Regions from separate parts of the Homo sapiens genome. Here regions 2 and 3 are each linked to region 1. Evidence: promoter capture Hi-C in 16 types of primary human blood cells and fetal thymus (Javierre and others, 2016). All regions are on one chromosome and are shown on one strand. Each heading gives the region's core, a stretch centred on a gene start or on the middle of the fragment in contact. The rest is flanking DNA. Distances are from core to core; before and after follow the strand shown.

Region 1 (4,046 bases), core at 701-3,200:
GCTCCCTAGGGACAGGTGGCTCACAAAATCTCAAACGGAGACCAGCCCTGAAAGAGGCTAGTCCTAAGGTTGGGGGCTTGCAAGATGGAGGCTGTAAGTCCTGAGGCACCACCACTGTTAGCATGGCATGAACCAAAGCTTAACAGCCCAGCCCCACTCCCTCCTGGGGCCCAGGGAACCCTCCCTGCCCACTGTAAATACAGTTGCCTGCAGGCTCTGGCCACAAACCCAGGTGAGCCCCAGCTCCTTGCCTCTCTGTGGGATCTTGGGTGAGTCACATAACCCCTCAAGGGTAAGCCATAAAGAAGTAACCACGAAATTCTAACTGGTGTCATCTAATGCTATGTTGCCCAACATGGAAAAAAAGTCTTGCAGGCAGCCAAGAACCATAATGAAGGTTATTAAACCTGCAGTGTGCCCTTTTGGTCTGTATAGATTAACATACAAATAGACCAGGAGATCAAGAAGGAGCGAGGCTGAGAAGAGTGATCCATCAGCCTGGTTGCGTTGCTGTCAGTTACCCTGCTCTGGGTGCCGACTGTTCAGGGAAAACATGGGAAGGGGTGCATTGACCCAACCAAAAGTACCATGTCTGCTCCAAAGCAGGCCTTTGGGAAGGCTCTTGACCCTCAGCAGAGGGGGCTGGAGAGGCTGATGGATGAGGAGGAGCCCTGGGAATGGAGGAAGAAGCCTCCAGTCTTCTGCCACGGAGTTTAGGGGAGATGCCCCCACTGGAGCCTCTGATGGTCATGCAGCCCCCACTGATGTCCAGGTTTTTTTGGTTTTGTTTTTTGTTTTGAGACGGTCTCACTTTGTAGTCCAGGCTGGAGTGCAGTGGTGAGACCAAGGCTCACTGCAGCCTCGACCTCTCTGCCCCAAGTGATCTCCTGCCTCAGCCTCCCTTGTAGCTGGGACTGCAGGCAGACGCCAAGGGGCCCCGCTAATTTTTGTATTTTTTTGTAGAGACGGGGTCTCGCTGTGTTGCCCAGGCTCTCCTGGACTCAAGCGGGCTCACGGATCCTCCCACCTCGGCCACCCAAAGTGCTGGGGTTACAGGCGTGAGCCACCGCCCCCGGCCCTAGGTCCGTTTTAAATGCCCTTACCCTCAGCCACTTCACCGCTAGATGTATGTGCAAGCAGGATCGTGGCATCGATGTTTTTCGGCAAGGAAACTAGGAGCGCCCGCGGGCGTGGGGGCACGTGCCTGTGGTCTCAGCTGCTCTGGAGGCCGAGGAGGGAGGATCGCTTCGGGCAGAGAGGTCGAGGCTGCAGCAAGCCGTGGTCCTGCCACTGTACTCCAGCCTGGGCGACAGAGCGAGACCCCGTGTCTTAAAAAAAAAATTAAGGTCGGACGCAGTGGCTCACGCCTGTAATCCCAGCACTTTGGGAGGCCGAGGTGGGCGGATCACTTCAGGTCAGGAGTTCGAGACCAGCCTGGCCAACATGGTGAAACCCTGTCTCTACTACAAATACAAAAATTAACCGGGCGTGGTGGCGTGCGCCTTCAATCTCAGCTACTCGGGAGGCTGAGGCAGGAGAATCGCTTGAACCCGGGAAGCGGAGGTTGCGGTGAGCCGAGATCGCGCCATTGCACTCCAGCCTGGGCAACAAGAGCGAAACTCCGTCTCAAAAAAAAAGAAAAGAAAAGAAAAGAAAAAAACTAGGAGCAAACTGGCGCGCCCGGCAGAACGCCGTTGTGCAGACGCAGAATTAAGATCTTCACGCCAGATGGAGTGAAAAAGCAAGGAGCAGAAGATGGGTGGGAGCCCACTGCGCTTTTTAAAATCTGCACGTCTGCTTAGAGTACACAGAAATCCTGGCACACAAAACAGTAGCACCCGAGAGAGGGGAGGTCGCCGCGTTTCACACCTGCCTCTCCTCCGGGACCGGCGCCCTCGCCCGCTGCGCACGCGCGTCACCCTCTCCCAGTGCGCACGCGCGCTGCTGCCCGTCTGGCCCCGCAGGCTCGGTGAATCGAACGTTGAGCAGGGCGGTGGGTGGTGCGGAGTGCCGAGCGGCCTCACCCCCAACCGTCGGCCCAGTCGGACGGTTCCGAGGCGTTGCCGGGAGCCGGGCGCGGCTCTGTGTGGACTCGGAGAAACGCGGGTACATTTGGGGACACCGGGGACGAGAGCCCAGCCCGGACTTGGGGGAGTCCGTCAGTGCCGGACGCGGGTCCCTGGCTTGCGGACGGGCTGGGGCCGGGGGCGTCCCCGTCTTTCCGGAGCTGGGGGCGGGGTTCGGGCCCGGGCAGATGCGGCGTTCGGGCGGCCGAGCCCCGAAGTAAGAACTCCGTGGCGCGTGCAGCCCTAGGGAGGAAGGGCGTGCTGCGGGTGCAGTCTCAGGGTGAGGACGGAGCTGGGGCCGACGCAGCCTCGGGAGTTGGTGGACGGGACAGGTGCGGCCTGTGGGGAAGAAGGGCCGGCCAGGGAGATGCGGTCTGCAAGGGGAGAGGAGGCACTCCCAGGACAGATGGGACCTTTTGGGACGAAGGCGCTCAAGGCAGATGCAGCTCAGGGAGGGAAGGGCGCGTCCAGGGTAGATGGGGCCTGAGGAGACCAGCGGGGCGCCAACGGCCAGATGCGGCTTTGGTGTGAGACAGGGTGTCCCAGGCCTGATGCAGCCTCAAGAGAAGCGGAGCTCAAGGGAAGATGAAGCCTGGAGGAGAACGTGGGGGCGCAGGGTGCAAATGCACCCTCCAGGCGAGAAAGGGAGCACCCGGGGATGATGTGCCGCTGGGATAGAAGGCAGGGAGGCACTGGGGGCAGATGCATCCTTGAGGAGAGATGAGGAGGCCCCGAGGCTCGGCCAGGTTGGGGTCCCTGGGCTGTAAGCAGCTGAGATGGCACCCAGGAGCTGCCCAGGGTCAGGTAGCTGTGGCCGCACTGTGGGCTTCTGGTCGTCGGGGAGGGAGGGGAGAAACCCTGGCGTTCCTTAGCAGTGTTCTCGCGCCCAAGACGTGCTCGGCAGGTTTTGTGGAATGAGTTGTTGAAAGGAGTGAATGTCCAGTCCTGAGATCCCCTGAATTCCCACCCGAGTTCACTGCTAGTGCCCCTCACCCCACATGTCTACCTGAACCAAGGCTCCAGGAACTTCGGTCTTTCTCAGCAGCCCGGCTGTGCTGTGGTTCTCCTCGTGTGTCCGGGAGCCGGGTGGCTGGGGATCCCTTCTGTAGCCTCTCGTGAGCCCTCATGGACCACGGCTCCTCCCTTCTTTTCTAGGGCGTCTGCCTGAGCCCGCTTTTCTACAAGATGTGGGGATTTTTGAAGCGCCCTGTAGTGGTGACGGCTGACATCAACTTGAGCCTTGTGGCCCTGACTGGGATGGGGTTACTGAGCCGGCTGTGGCGACTCACCTACCCGCGGGCTGTGGTGTAAGCTAAATGACTCCATTCCCAGGGTGAATCTAGAATTGTACTTTGTGACAGGAGGCGCCCTTACTGAATAGCATAAATGGGAGAGTGAAATCCTGGCTTCTTGGTGATAGGTGTTTTTGGCAGTGAGAGGAGAGACCAGTCTGTCCCCAGGACAGCCCCAGCAGAGTACACCTTTTAGGTCTTGCCTTCTGAGTCTGTAACAGGTGAAATTTGGCCCATTAAAGGGGTGCAGTAGAGGAAAATCTGGTTGCCAGCCTTAAGTAACAGTTTTAAAGTCTGGACGGCAGAGGATTAATGGATTTGGAAGTAAGTCTTCACTGTTGAGAGCACTTTTTAGAATGTGTTTTTGTCATAATGGGAAGTGATTGCTGTTATTATTGAAGGGCTCTTTATTAACTGATTAATGTGTGTATGTGTGTGTGTGTGTGTGTGTGTGTGTGTGTGTGTGTTTTTGAGACGGAGTCTTGCTGTGTCGCCCAGGTTGGAGTGCAGTGGTGCCATCTCGGCTCACTGCAACCTCTGCCTCCTGGGTTCAAGCAATTCTCTGCCTCAGCCTCCCGAGTAGCTGAGATTACAGGTGCCCGCCACCACACCCAGCTAATTTTTGTATTTTTAGTAGAGACGGGATTTCACCATCTTGGCCAGGCTGGTATTGAACTCCTGACCTCAT
Region 2 (4,046 bases), core at 598-3,097, 230 kb after region 1:
CTACCAAATTACAACAAAGGCACCTGAGGCTCAGGAGATTAAGCAATTTGCCCACGGTCACCCAGCCAGAAGCAAGGCTTCCGCAGCCCCCTGTGAGCTCCAGCAGGACAGTCAGGAGGAGAGCTGTCTTCTGAAGGAATCCTCAGGATGATGGGGTGTCCTGTTAGTGCAGCAGCTGCCTCTGTGGCAGAGGGGTCCCTGGAAACATGAAGGCTCATTTTCACCCAAGTCACACAGCCAAGAGAATAATATCAGAATCAATAAAAATATAGATGCATGGGGAATAGTCAGATGGGCTTTAGTCCTAACTTTGCCCCAACTCAGTATATGACTATGTGCAAATGTTAACTCTTTCAGGTCTCAAAGAAAAGCTCTGTGTCTTAGTCTCCTCCTCTGTAGGATGAGAACAGTTAACAGTACCTTTCTCCTATTGTAAGGATTAAATGCAACCACAAGTGTAAAATATACAGAAGCGAGCCTGGTACAGCACGTGGTAAGTGCCTAATGAACATCAGCTACTACTATTATTTGTATTTATTATTGAAAGGAGGGGTTGAGAGTAGCCAATTCCATGACTCATGAACAATCATCCATCTATTTATTCAGAACCATCACTTGAAGGAGGATGGGCGCATGTGATAACCAGCAAATAAATACAACCACTGTTTCCAACCAGGGGTTTTGTTTGTTTGCTCGTTTGGGGTCAGCTAAGTGGCTATTTAACACGGTCACATTCCACTGGATGTCAGCTGTCCTCTCTTCTCATTCCATGTCCTTCCTTCTCTCAGTTACTGTCAGTGTCACACTCCTGCTCCGTTTTTAACAATACAGTGTGTGGCTGGGAATCGCATCTGTCAGGTCCACATCAGTGGCACAAATTTTAAAAGCTATAGAGCAAATGCCTGAAATCCGCCCCTCTGAACCCAGCCCTGGGCAAACCACACAGCATCCTGTGCTCAGTGCTCCATTTCTACGCTTTAAAAGCACTGCAGAATCGCCTGATCACAAAACTTAATATGCAGTAAAGTCACTGTGTGGTTTGGGCAAGCCAGTGAAAAGCAAAGAGAAAGCTGCTGCTAAGGGACTGTGGGGACAGAAGTCTAAGCTGTTACAGGAGTCGTGGTGTTCCGGGAAGCAGCAGTCCAGACTGCAGGGTGGGACTTGGGTTCAGAGAATTGTCACCTGTCTTTCAAACTACAGCCTGGGAGAAGAAAGTGGGAGAAAGGAATTGTGACCAGCAGACAGCAGATTTCTAATAAATTCAGATGAACCTCCCCCCCTGTACCTTAGCTCACAGAGGAGGGGGAAGTAGCAAGAAAATACTGCCCATGCCTCTTGACAAAGAAGGAAGGGGGTGCCAGAGGCACACCAACAGCCTGCACCCCAGCCCTAGACAGCACACGCTGCACAGTCATCCTGGGAAAAGAGAGTAATGCTGCAGGAAGCCAGTCCTAAATCACATTCAAAGGCCAACTGAAAAAAAAAAAAATAACAAGTAGGGACAGGGATTCCTGGGATGGTGCTCATTATGGGTGTCAGGCTGAGTAGAGCTGGCACAGGCCTTGGTTTGTAAACACAGGGCAGAACGAGCATTACCTAAGAGCGCTTTGCTCCTGCACATCCCAAAGAACCAGGCAGTCACTACAAGTGGAAGCTCAAAGAACATGCACTCAAGTGGAAGCTCAAAGAACGTGCACTCAAGTGGAAGCTCAAAGAACGTGCACTGACCAATGGATGCGGCATCAGAACCGAGTGGCGGCTCAGCCTTCACGGTGTCCTGGCGTTCTCCCAGTGGTGTTCTGGGAATTTGATCCTAACCTCATCATTAGTGTTCAGAGGACTACAGGAAAACACAGAACCCCCAACTAACTGCACACCACTGATCAGATATTGGTCCTACTAATGTACCAAGAAACATCCTAATTGGCAATTTGAAACCACAATAAGCTACGTCTAAAGATAATTTGAGACTTGGAACCAGAAACTAAAATTCATTCTATGATAATATTAACTAAATTCACTCATTCTTTTAGTAAGTATTTACTGAGCACCTATTGCGTTCAAGGCACCGTAATGGCACCGCAGTGGTAGACACACTCCCTCACGGAGCTAATCATCTGTTTAACATTTCACTTGTTGATTTTTTAACTTGCAGAAAGGAAACTGGGGCTTTGATTTTGAATGAGTGAAACATCATTCTACTCAAGCATTGATCTGGGGCATTTCCATGGAATTTACTATATGTTAGAGGAAGAGAAGGCACAAAGAGCCCAGAGGAAGTTGATTTTGGTAGAGGCAGCTGTGAGAGCATCGAGGAAGTGGGTTTTCACATTGTGTTTGGGGTGGAGGGTCCAAGGAGGAGCCTCGGCCACAGCTAAGCAGGAAGGACTGCATTCAAAGAGGCTTCCCCATTAGTGGTTACCTAATGGCCTTCTTATGTATAAAAAAGGGCCTGCAGTCACGCATGCGGGGCTTCAAACCTAGATGACGGGTTGATAGGTGCAGCAAACCGCCACGGCACATGTATACCTATGTAACAAACCTGAACGTTCAGCACATGTATTCCAGAACTTAAAATTTAAAAAAGCCGGGGCGGGGGCGGGGGGGGGGGTGGTGCGGGGTTGGCGGGGGCAGTGGCTACAGCTTAAAAACACAAACAGAGGAGCGCTCCTTTTGAGTCCCACTCCTTCCTGGCACTGATGGGGAAAATAAGCCCCAGGAAAGGGTAAGAATCACCCAAGGACACAACTAAGATGTTCTCAAACAGATGACCAGAAACTAAGATGACTGGCCTGCTGGATGACAGATCCCTTAATAATTCACAAACGGTGGGTTTTATTTATTTACTCATAAAACAGCCTTTGGGGCAAGACGGGTGACGAGTCAGAGGAACACCTGTCCCGGCGGCGAGGCGGCCGCGGGGTGGGGCAGGCGGTGGGTTGTCAGGCCTCTCCTCTTTCCAGAGCGTGATCTTATCCTGGCCATGGGGAACACGCTCAGCTGGCCTGAGGTAAGACCCAGCCTGGCACTCAAGGCAATCTCCAATCCGGGCTACTTTGGGAGACATTTTTCTGCAAGCTCACACATGACTCATCTCTACAGACCTCCTATAAGGTCTCTTGGCTACAAGGAATCCCATTCAAACCGCCTCTGCCAACAGCTGCTCTGGAGACCAGGAAACATTTGGGGTTGCTGTGGTTGATTTTTCTAAAAACACACTTAGCTGGCATTAGTGCTATTTCTTATCTCTCTACAGCACTGTTAATGTGACTAGTATTACGAGTATCAGACGCAGTCTAAAGACTGTAGTGAGCCTCCCTTAATTTCATTGGTAGATCTTTTTTTTCAAAGATCAGAAAAGAGATTGAGAAGCCTGAAGAATTAAGATGGAAAGCTGTGTCCCCAGCAACCAGGGAGGCTCTAACCAGTGCTCTATAAAGGCAAGAAAGGGGGCCGGTTCCCCATTCCACTTCTCCAGGGCATGACCTTGGGCAAACAACCAAATTTCCCTGGGCCTTAGCTGCCCTGAGGGGCAAAAGAGGGATACTCCGCCCTGCCCTCACCCCCTGGGCTGTTGTGAGGATGAAATGAAATGAGGTAGTCTATAAATGCATTCTGAAAACCACAGGAAATTGCAGAGATGTTCAAGATCGTTCTGATTCTACCCCTGGACTGTGGCCTCCAGGGACAGGTTCCTGCTGGCTCCCTGCCACGAGGCATCACTTGGTGTTTGCCAACAAGGAGGCACTCAGTAAGTGTTAAAACGGGTGAGTGAAAGGAGGCAGAGCAGGTGCCATCAAAATGTCTCATTGCTTGACTGAGTATACTTTGACGACAAAAATTCCTAACTATGGAGGAAAAAGGAAGTACAAATTTGACGAGTTTAAAATTGATCGAAATACAATGACTGCCAATCTAAGAGGACCTCTTTCTCAGGCCACAAAAATGAGTAGCCCTACATCATAGGGCCTGTACTCTTAGTATCTGTTCTGAGAAAATATATCATGACAAAAATGTGACCATGAAATGCAGTCATTATAAATTTC
Region 3 (4,046 bases), core at 527-3,026, 150 kb before region 1:
TGCTCCTGAACAGCACAGCAAGCTCCAGGGAGGCTGGGCGGCAGCAGGCTCCCTGGAAAATGGGAGGGGGCTGGGCACACTGGTTCATGTCTGTAATCCCAGAGCTTTTGGAGGCCGAGAAGGGAGGAGTGTTTGAGCCCAGGAGATGGAGGCCAGCCTGGGCAACATAGGGAGACCCCGCCACCCCCATCTCTACAAAAAATTTAAAAATAACCCAGGCGTGGTGGTGCACACCTGTAGCCCCAGCTACTTAGGAGGCTGAGGTGGGAGGATCACTTGAGGCCTGGGAGTTTGAGGCTGCAGTGAGCCAAAATTGCACCACTGCACTCCAGCCTGGGCAACAGAGCAAGACCCTGTCTCACATACACACAACAAAAAAGTGACTAGTGTGATAGAGGAAGTGAGTCCTCAATTTTAGTTGTTATTAATTAGAATTAATTAGCTAGCAGCTTCTGGATGGGACAGTGCAGCTCTAGAGGCTTCATCAGACTCAGGTTTACTTTCTGGGTGAGACAACCCCATGGGCGGGGTGTGCTGCATTCAGGTAGGAAGCCTGAGCCCTGAGCCCAAGCCCAGGCTCGAGGGCTGAGTGAAGGTCTACATCCCTGAGGATGTGTGGCCTTTCTGGCGCCACCTGCTCCTCCTGGAGTCTGAGGCTTTCTGCTCTTCCAGCCTGGGGGTGCCAGGCTGCTAGGGGTGGCACCTTTCCCTCCCCAGGAAAAGATGCAAAATCCCCTGATGGCACAGGCAGCCCCTCCCCAGAATGGACGGGATGGAAAGGGGACAAGTGGCAATGGCCCCAAACCAGGACCTCAGCTCATGGGTTCCCGGGTCCCTGGGGAAAGGGCTGAGGTCCTTCCTGCACTCAGCAAACAGGAACTGCGCGCTGAGCACCCAGCTGGAAATCAGCCATGGACAGGACAGACCTCTTCCCTCCCCCAACAAGCTCACGGTCTAGCCGAGGAGACTCATGTTGAAACATATAAATGGCCACTTCGCCAGGTCATAGCCATGGTAGTGGGGCTCGGAAGGAGAAGCCCATGGCGTTATGAGGGCGTGTGGAGCGGCGGTCGCCAAGGAGGGCTTCCCTGGGGGAGTGACAGTGAAGCAGAGCCCCCAGACCTGAGCGGGACTTGACCAGAAAGGAGGGAGGAAGAGTGTGGCCGGCAGAGGGAGCTGCGAGTGCAAGGCTGACAGGCAGGAAGGCCCGGGCGCTTGCAGGGAGATGCAAGTCTGAGGACGATGGCCCGGCTACGGCTGTTCCGCTGGGGCTGTTCCTGCTCTCCTTCCGCCCTGGGGGAGATGTTCCAATTCTACCCGGCGCTCCCCAGTCCGTGGACTCAGTCTTTCCTTGTGGGCTCCATTTCCCAGCTTCTAATCTCTCTGCGGCTCAACCCCTCTTCCCCTCTGTGTAGCCATGAGGCCCGGAGCCACCCCAAGAGCAGCCTTGGAGGCCTGATTGAGACAGCATCACCCCATCCCTGAGCCCAGAGCATGGAGAAAGCTTAGGTCACGGTGGAGCCTTTCTTGTTTTTTGTTTGCTTGTTGTTTGTTTGTTTGTTTGTTTGTGACGGAGTCTCGCTCTGTCGCCCAGGCTGGAGTGCAGTGGCGCGATCTCGGCTCACTGCAAGCTCCTCCTCCCGGGTTCACGCCTTTCTCCCGCCTCAGCCTCCCGAGTAGCTGGGACTACAGGCGCCCACTACCACGCCCACGCCCGGCTAATTTTTTTTTTTTTTGCATTTTTAGTAGAGACGGGGTTTCACCCTATTAGCCAGGATGGTCTCGATTTCCTGACCTCGTGATCCGCCCGCCTCGGCCTCCCAAAGTGCTGGGATTACGGGCGTGAGCCACTGCGCCCGGCCACGGTGGAGCCTTTCATGGAAAGGCCCGGGAAACAAACTATGACTCAGGCCAGGGACAGGGCTGGTCCTTATCGACTGCTTCACCCCCAGCCTGAAAGAGTGTGGTCAGAGGCTGGCACCACTGTGGCTGGGGACGTCCTGATTTCTCCCCTGCAGAATGTGGTTATTCTGGCGCTGGGGTGGCCCTGAAGCTTAGCTATGAGGGAAGCCTGTTCTTAGATACCCCAGCCTTGGGAGAGAAGAGCTGTGTACTGCCGCTGATAATGAACAGTGGCTGGCCGGGCATGGTGGCTCAGGCCTGTAATCCCAGCACTTTAGGAGGCCCAGGAGGAGTTTGGAAAACTGCTTGACCCCAGGAGTTGGAGGCTGCAGTGAGCCATGATCGTGCAACTGCACTCCAGCCTGGTCCACAGAGCAAGATCCTGCCTCAAAAAAAAAAAAAAAATTCTTTCTTGGCCGGGCATGGTGGCTCATGCTTGTAATCCCAGGACTTTGGAAGGCTAAGATTAGAGGATTCCTTTGAGACCAGCCTGGGCAACATAATAAGACCCTGTCTGTATGTGAAAAATTTTAAAAACTTAAAAAAAAAAAAGTCTTTCTTCAATAATAAATTAACCCTTAATGTAACTTTTAAAATTTTTACTTTATAAACTTTTTTGAACTTTTTCACTCTTACAATAATGCTTAGTTTATAATGCAAATATATTGCATAGCTGTACAAAAATATTTTCTTTATATCCTTATTCTATAATCTTTTTTCTATTTTTAAAATTTCTTATTTTTTATTTTTTTACTTTTATTTTTTATTTTTATTTATTTATTTATTTTGAGACGGAGTCTCGCTCTGTCACCAGGCTGGAGTGCAGTGGCGTGATCTTGGCTCACTGCAACCTCCAACTCCCAGGTCCAAGTGATTCTCCTGCCTCAGCCTCCTGAGTAGTTGGAATTACAGGCACGCGCCATCACACCCGCCTAATTTTTGTATTTTTATTAGAGACGGGGTTTCACCATGTTGGCCAGGATGGTCTCAATCTCCTGACCTTGTGATCCAACCACCTCAACCTCCCAAAGTGCTGGGATTACAGGTGTGAGCCACCATACCTGGCCTATTTTTTTACTTTTAAAAGTTTTTTGTTAAAAACTGAGACACAAGCCAGGTGAGGTAAGATATGCCTGCAGTCCCACCTACGGGAGGCTGAGGCAAGGGGATGACCTGAACCCAGTCTGGGCAACACAGTGAGGCCCTGTCTCTTATTTAAACAAAACAAAACAAAGACATTAGCACACACATGAGCCTAGGCCTACACAGGGATAGAATCATCAGTATCACTGTTGTCCACCTCCACATCTTGACCACCTAGAAGGTTTTCAGGGGCAATAACATGCATGAAGCTGAGATATGTGATAATAATGCCAGTGGGCTTGGTGGCTCATGCCTGTAATCCCAGCCCTTTGGGAGGCTAAGGTGGGCAGATCACTTGAGCCCAGGAGTTCAACACCAGCCTGGGCAACATGGCAAGACCCCGTCTCTACCAAAAAATACAAAAAGTTAGCCAGGTGTGGGGGCTTGCACCTGTAGTCCCAGCTACTTGGGAGGCTGAGGTGGGAGGATCGCCTGAGAGTAGGAGGCGGAGGTTGCGGTGAGCTGAGATGGCACCACTGCACTCCTGGGTGACACAGCAAGACTCTGTCTCAAAAAAAAAAAACAAGGCTGGGTGTGGTGGCTCTCGCCTGTAATCCCAGCACTTTGGGAAGCTGAGGTGGGTGGATCACCTGAGGTCAGGAGTACAAGACCAGCCTGGCCAACATGGAGAAATCCCATCTCTACTAAAAAAGTACAAAAATTAGCTGGGCATGGTGTTGTATGCCTGTAATCCCAGCTACTCGGGAGGCTGAGGCAAGAGAATTGCTTGAACCCAGGAGGCGGAGGTTGCAGTGAGCTGAGATTACACCGCTGCACTCCAGCCTGGGCAATAGAGCCACACTCTGTCTCAAAAAGAAATAATAAAAAATACTAGGTTCAATACATAATCATATGCTCCTGCTGTTCTTTTACACCAGCATCACCACAAACACATGAGTAACACATTGTCGTAGACATTGTGACAGCTACGATAGACTGGGCGATAGGAATTTTTCAGCTCCATTATAATCGCATGGGACGACAGTCATACGTGCGGCCCA

What was found. Contacts are between HindIII fragments. The CHiCAGO score rates a contact against its expected background, and 5 or more counts as called.
Region 2: a fragment that was not itself captured here is called in contact with the fragment with the promoter of POMT1 in region 1 in 1 of 17 cell types (neutrophils); the score reaches 5.9 in neutrophils.
Region 3: a fragment that was not itself captured here is called in contact with the fragment with the promoter of POMT1 in region 1 in 1 of 17 cell types (non-activated CD4 T cells); the score reaches 6.1 in non-activated CD4 T cells.

What each region holds. Positions count from the first base shown.
Region 1 is chr9:131,500,968-131,505,013 of GRCh38, forward strand. POMT1 (protein O-mannosyltransferase 1) reads left to right here and starts at 1,951. Exons shown (of 20, transcript NM_001077365.2): 1 at 1,951-2,106; 2 at 3,222-3,373. The coding sequence starts at 3,252. RefSeq lists enhancers at 1-248, 1,737-2,604, 2,605-3,470, 2,842-2,901, 3,382-3,461 and 1 more and silencers at 1,852-2,051, 2,122-2,271. The HindIII fragment of the contact is 12,581 bases long and covers 137-4,046 here.
Region 2 is chr9:131,730,766-131,734,811 of GRCh38, forward strand. The region is part of intron 1 of RAPGEF1 (Rap guanine nucleotide exchange factor 1); the gene reads right to left. Among named protein-coding and RNA genes, the nearest start is that of RAPGEF1, 7.3 kb to the right of the region's middle. RefSeq lists silencers at 2,391-2,440, 2,817-3,111. The HindIII fragment of the contact is 9,723 bases long and covers 1-4,046 here.
Region 3 is chr9:131,349,049-131,353,094 of GRCh38, forward strand. The region is part of intron 3 of LOC105376299 (a long non-coding RNA gene); the gene reads left to right. LOC105376300 (a long non-coding RNA gene) reads right to left here and starts at 1,383. Exons shown (of 4, transcript XR_930401.3): 1 at 1,123-1,383; 2 at 1-104. RefSeq lists an enhancer at 3,052-3,553. The HindIII fragment of the contact is 549 bases long and covers 1,503-2,051 here.